Linked DNA regions of Homo sapiens: region 2 is linked to region 1. Evidence: promoter capture Hi-C in 16 types of primary human blood cells and fetal thymus (Javierre and others, 2016). All regions are on one chromosome and are shown on one strand. The core of a region is centred on a gene start or on the middle of the fragment in contact, and the rest is flanking DNA. Distances in the headings are between cores, read along the strand shown.

Region 1 (2,766 bases), core at 6-2,505:
TTAATTTCATGAAATCACTCCTTAATTCTAACTTTCAAAAGTCAAATTTTATTTCTTTAATTGCATGTGGATTGTTATAATGAGGAGAATCAGAACAGCTTATAGGACAATATTTCTTTTCTATTTTTCTTAACACACCATATTTATTTGGAAATTTACCTCCTACATTGTCCAGGGAATTAGGATGGGCGTTGGCCGTTTTTCAGCACTTCCTGGTTGAGGCCAAGGGCTCCACTCACGTGCCTGTCCATCCCTCTACAAGGCTTCCCTGGCAGCTTGTTTTTCCGTTTAAAATTTAACAATGACCAAATCCCAAAAAAGCTACCAGGCTAAGAAATGAAACATCTTTTTTTCTTTTAAGTCCGGAGAAGTGCTGCTGAGCACAGCTGGCTCACTGCTGTTTCTGCGGCCCCCATCTCTGATCCTTTCTAGTCTCCTACCCACCCCCACCCCACCATAGGCAGGCAGAGCCGGATTTCTGCCCTTCAAACCCCGAGTGTGAGGAAGCCTCACCTGAAGTCCTCGCATCACCCTCCACCCTCACGCCCTTGGGTTTTAAAAAGCCACTGCGTTCGTGGGTCACTGCAGGGCGCCTCCGCAATGTCTTTAGCAGATACAAGAGCATCCCTCCCACGGGATGTGCAGTGTAGTCAAGCTGAGTAAACTGGGATTTTTGGCTGCCTTTTCTGCTAGGGTGGGTGGGGAAAGGTATGTCCCCCAAGCGTTCAGTTCAGACTAGAACCTTTGAATCTCTCTCCTGTCTCGGTCTCTCCCTCCACCCCCCTACCCCGCCACCTTTCACGGTGTGGGAGTTCTCCTTTCCCACACCAGAGAGGGGCGCCTTTCTAGCTTCCTTGTCCCCTCGCCCACTGATTAAAAAATGGAGAAAAAAACCAACCCCAAAACCCAAAACAAAACAAAACAAAAGCCCCAAACAAACAAACAAACCAAACCCACCGAAACCAAAACCAACTCCCCTCCCCCAAACCACACAAATGCGGGAGTCATAGCCAGTGGATCCGCTGGTGCTGAACGAATGGAAGCGCGGGGCGGGCCTGCGCGCGCGGCCGCCCTGCCCACGATGCTGTCGCCCCCGCGACCTGTAGGGCCTTCGCTGGCCCCTCACCCTCCTCCCGCCCCGGGCTGAGGCTGCCGCCGGTTTCGCGCCCAGTGCCGAGGCAGCGGCGGAGCCGGGGAAGGTCGGAGGGAGGGTGGTTTCCTCCCGCCCCACACCCAGTCTCCGAGCCGGATATATAGAGTGTCACGTTTGGGAGCCGAAAGACTGGAGCCGTTTCCTTGTGGCTGGAGCGCTTCCCGTAGCCTCGGGGAAGGAGCAGGATTTAGAGGACCACTAGTTGGACCCCATCCTCGTGCTGGAGGAACAGGTATTCCAGGGTCCCCAGCCCTGGCGCTCGCAGAGCCCACGCGCTCCAAAAGCAGAGACCGGACTGGGGGTGGCCCAGGAGGGAGGGCTCGGCTGGGTTCGCAGGGCGGGGCGGTTCCCGGCGGGACCTCGAGGAGGGTGGGTGTGAGGCCGGGTGGGAGGAGAGAAGCATTTGCGGAGGCTCTGCCCCCTGAAGCTGCCCCCGGCTGCACCCCAATCGTCACCGGCCGTTTACGCGCGGTTGGCGTCGGCGGAGCCCGCCAAGGTGGGGCGCGCGGGGGTTGCAAAGGGCAGAAAGCCGGGAAGGACCCAGCAAGGTTAATGTGGGGGGCCGCGCCTTGGGGACTGGGGACCCGGGAAGAGAGGCGCGGGGCCGAGTCCCACCCAGGCCTCCTGGGCCCTTGGGGCTATTCCTGGAGAGAGCGCGAAAATGCCGGGGCCACGTGTGAAACGGCAGCGGTCCTAGGTCCCCTCCCGGTGCCTGGGACCGCCAGGGCGCCCAGTCCTGGTCCCCGGAGCAGGTCCTCGCCAGCCCCCAGCCCCACCCCAGGCTGCGCACGTCCCTACCCTCCCACCTGGGCCTCGCCGGGGTCGTGGCTGACGCGCGCTGGGGCGACTGGTGAGGCCAGGGCGGGCTTTGCCCCTGTAGGAAGTTTTAGACATCTTCCTGCGGCCTGGGCATCCTGGGGGTGTGCAGGGGAGCAGGTGCCAGCAGACTCCCAACTGGAGTAGATGGCTTGCAGGAAGGCTGCTCAACACTCCTAGCAAGTAGAATTACCCGCGGGGCAGTCTCAGTCTATTAAAACAATTCATGCCCAATCGTATCCTACAAACCAGAGGAAGGCGTCTCACCTGCCAGCGGTGGCACCATTTCTTCCACGGTTGAGTTATGTGGTGTGAGCAACCAAGGTTATCGCTGGATCTGCAAGAGTTTGGCCACTCGTTGAATCACGTAAAGTGCCCCCATTATGTGATGAGCAAGGACAGAGTAGGGTCAGAAAAGTGACCAGGGAATTCAGGTAGATCGTGCTTTTCTGTTTGCTAGGTTGAGAGAAATTTGACACTGGGCAAATGGAAATTTGAGAATTACCCCGTGGTTTCAATTACCCATCTCTGTATATTCCCATTTATAAGAGCTGGAGATTTGACTGACAGGTGTAGTTAGTCCAAAATTTAGAAAGGGGGGCAAGGGACTAAATAAAAACTTAAGGCAGCCACCTAAACTGCAAGAGCAGGCATTTCCGCAGAAGGGATATTTGTGTGTGAGACTTCTAGGAGATGGGCATGAGGTTTTTACCAGGCCGACGCGTGTGTCAATATTTCATCGGTAGTATTTCTCAGGATCCACGTCTTTACAGTACTCTTTTCCTAATTCTGAGGGC
Region 2 (2,728 bases), core at 209-2,708, 2.2 Mb after region 1:
CAGGCAAACCCCAAATACCAAAGAAGCATCCATGTGTCAAACCAGCATAATTTTTGAGCTATGCCTGGGGCCACATACAAAAAAAGAAAAGGTTAGCTTGAAAAGAAAAATCTAGGAGAGGTAACCAGAAGGTCAACCACAGTTCACGGGATCTGGGAAGAAGCTAGCCGTTACCCTGTGTCATCTTCCTGAGCAGCTTCCTCCCCAGCCAGCTCCCCAGCCTCCTTACAATGTTTCCAAAAGGCCCAACTCCCTAAACATTTGCTTCTTCAAGGTCATCCTAAGGCACTGAATAACCACCAAACACTGAGTCACGCATACCTTTCGCCTAAAAAAGATCCCCCTTCCCAAAATCATTATATAAATACTTTAAATGCCATGAGGGTTTTCTCCGAAACTCCACCAGAAACAAACTCCCAGACTTTTAGATTGGGCAACTAAATGTGTTCAATTTTGCGACATAAAATTTTAAAAGGCTTTTCAAGTCTGGCAAATTCCAGTTCAAAAACAGGTGCTTTCAGCGTACTCTGAATAACAAGGTCAAATTCATTTTTAAATTATTAAAAGAAAAAGAAAAGCTTTTCTTAACCCTCCTTAGGACAACTTAAGAAGGGGGAGAAAGAATTGCTGGGGTAAAACTGTCTCGGATAGGGTCCCTGTTTAACTCAAGAGTAAATCCTAATCTTCCGAGTGCCTGAAGTAATGGAAGGTTACAGGAAGAAAATAAAAACAAAGAAACTGACTAGGGTCATAGTTACCAGAACAAACTGCACCGCCCTACCACCTCAAGAAACCAACTCCCCCTACACCAAAACAAACCTTGCCCTTCCCCGCTCCCCCCACCCCCTAGAAACACACAAAGAAACTGGCCGCACGCACAATTCGCCCACAGTCCTCACTTCCCTTAGTAGGGCAACAGGGAGCCCCGGAACTTCCCCACGGTGGTTTATCGGGCGTCGTCGGGGCTGGGTCCCCTGGACTTGCGGGCCACAGCTCGGCTGGGGAGGAGGTGCTCGCCGCCCTCACCCGTTTCTCTGAAAGCAGTAAAATGCCTCCCCGCTCCTCCCAGGGCCCTCGGGTCCCCACCTTCCGTAAATCGTGCTTCCCCCTCGGGCACTCCGGTGACTGCCGAGAGAGACGCCGAGCCAGCAAGTAAGAATGCTCCCTGGTGGATTTGTTGGTAAATAAGACATCTCGCGTCGGGAGGAAAGTTCCTGCGGGGGCCGCTCGCCGGGGCGAGGGCGAGGGCAGCGGGAGGTGAACCGCGTCGCTCGCCGCCACCTCCCTCACCTGCGCCGGAACAACGGGCCCCGCGCCAGCCCGGCCCGGCGCCTCCCGCAGGCCGCGCCTCCCGCACGCCGCGCTGCCGGGGCTTGTTCCTCCTCATGGCTTTGCCCTGACGTAATTCAAACATGGCAACAGTTCGACTTCAAAGGCGAACCCACAGACCTCCCAGACACAGGCTCCCGGGCCACGAGAAACCGGCCGAGCAGTCCGGGCCAAGCTCCCCGGAACCCTCGGCCGTCGCAACCCCCGACGCCAGGGCTGAAGCGCCGGGCACTGCCGCCTCCCTCGGTCGCCCGCCCGCACGCCCGGAGCGGGGAAGCACGCCGCCTCCCTACGCACCAGCATGGCACCTCGCACAAGTAGCGCCGCCAAAGTTTCCCCACGAGGGGGCTGAGGGACAAAAGCCCCTCCCGAAACTCGCCCGAACTTCGAGGGCCTCCGACCTGCACGGCCCTACGCCCAGGCGGCGGCCCCGAGCGCCGGGGGCCCGCACGGGCACATGCAGCCCTTTGTTTTCTGTCCAGCCGGGCGCTGCCTACGTGCAGCATCAGGGATGTCGGAGCGTTTCGCAGGGGCCGGACACTGGACGATCACCCTGGGTAGGGGTCCGGACCCCGCGCCCCGAAGAGTCCGGAGCCTGGCCCCCCGACCCTCCCCTCGGGAGCAGGCCCATTTAATCAAAGTTTTGCAGTGTCCTTGATGAGAAACGCCCGGAGTATCCGCCCCGCACGGGCGGAGAGTTGGCGACTTTCACTCTGCTTTTTAAACTGGCAAGACGCCATCATCAGCAAACCACATTGTCCTGCCGGCCGGACCTGCCCGACGGCGGCCGCATCCCACGGCTCACGCGGGGCTGGACATTCGGACAAGGACCAGGGTCGCAGCCCGAAGCACGTGGTCTGTCACGTAGAGCACAAAAAGCAGTGCCCTGCGGAGTTCACTGACTCCCGCGGCGTACACAACGCCGCCGCCTCCATCTCCAGCCAAGTTGGCTTCCCTGGCCATCTTACAGCGCGGACGGCCGCCCATAAACGGGAAGCCCTCGCGGTGTCGCCCACACCTACGCTACAGGTGAACGCACCGGGAGCAAAACTTCGGGCTCCGAAAGCACCCCGGACACCAGAGGCTCTTGGGCGCGGTCCGAAGAGGGCAGGCGAGTGGAAGACGGGCTGTTTTTAAGCGACCGCGTGTTGCTCTCATTGTCGCATCCGCATCCCTCCGGAGTTGAGCAAACAACGCCACGCCGCGTGCGCTCCGGCAGAGCCCAGCACTGACCCCCAAAGGCCGATTTAAAGACCCTCGGCCGCCAGCTCGGAAGCGGATGGCAACTTAGTTTCCGAGCGAATGGCGTTTATTGTCCACCCTAGTCCGAGGGCTGCAGTCAACTAAACCACGAGGTTTCACAACGGCGCCCGACCCTGCCCGCGCCTCGCGCCCACGC

Evidence for each region. Contacts are between HindIII fragments. The CHiCAGO score rates a contact against its expected background, and 5 or more counts as called.
Region 2: a contact is called between the fragment with the promoter of FLJ13224 here and the fragment with the promoter of FAR2 in region 1, in 1 of 17 cell types (M0 macrophages). The highest score is 7.0, in M0 macrophages.

Annotation. Positions count from the first base shown.
Region 1 is chr12:29,148,023-29,150,788 of GRCh38, forward strand. FAR2 (fatty acyl-CoA reductase 2) reads left to right here and starts at 1,256. Exons shown (of 12, transcript NM_001271783.2): 1 at 1,256-1,385. RefSeq lists silencers at 1,104-1,163, 1,474-1,623. The HindIII fragment of the contact is 9,301 bases long and covers 1-2,766 here.
Region 2 is chr12:31,322,858-31,325,585 of GRCh38, forward strand. FLJ13224 (a long non-coding RNA gene) reads left to right here and starts at 1,459. Exons shown (of 1, transcript NR_026806.1): 1 at 1,459-2,728. All of the region lies in intron 1 of SINHCAF (SIN3-HDAC complex associated factor), which reads right to left. RefSeq lists an enhancer at 2,382-2,728. The HindIII fragment of the contact is 3,270 bases long and covers 577-2,728 here.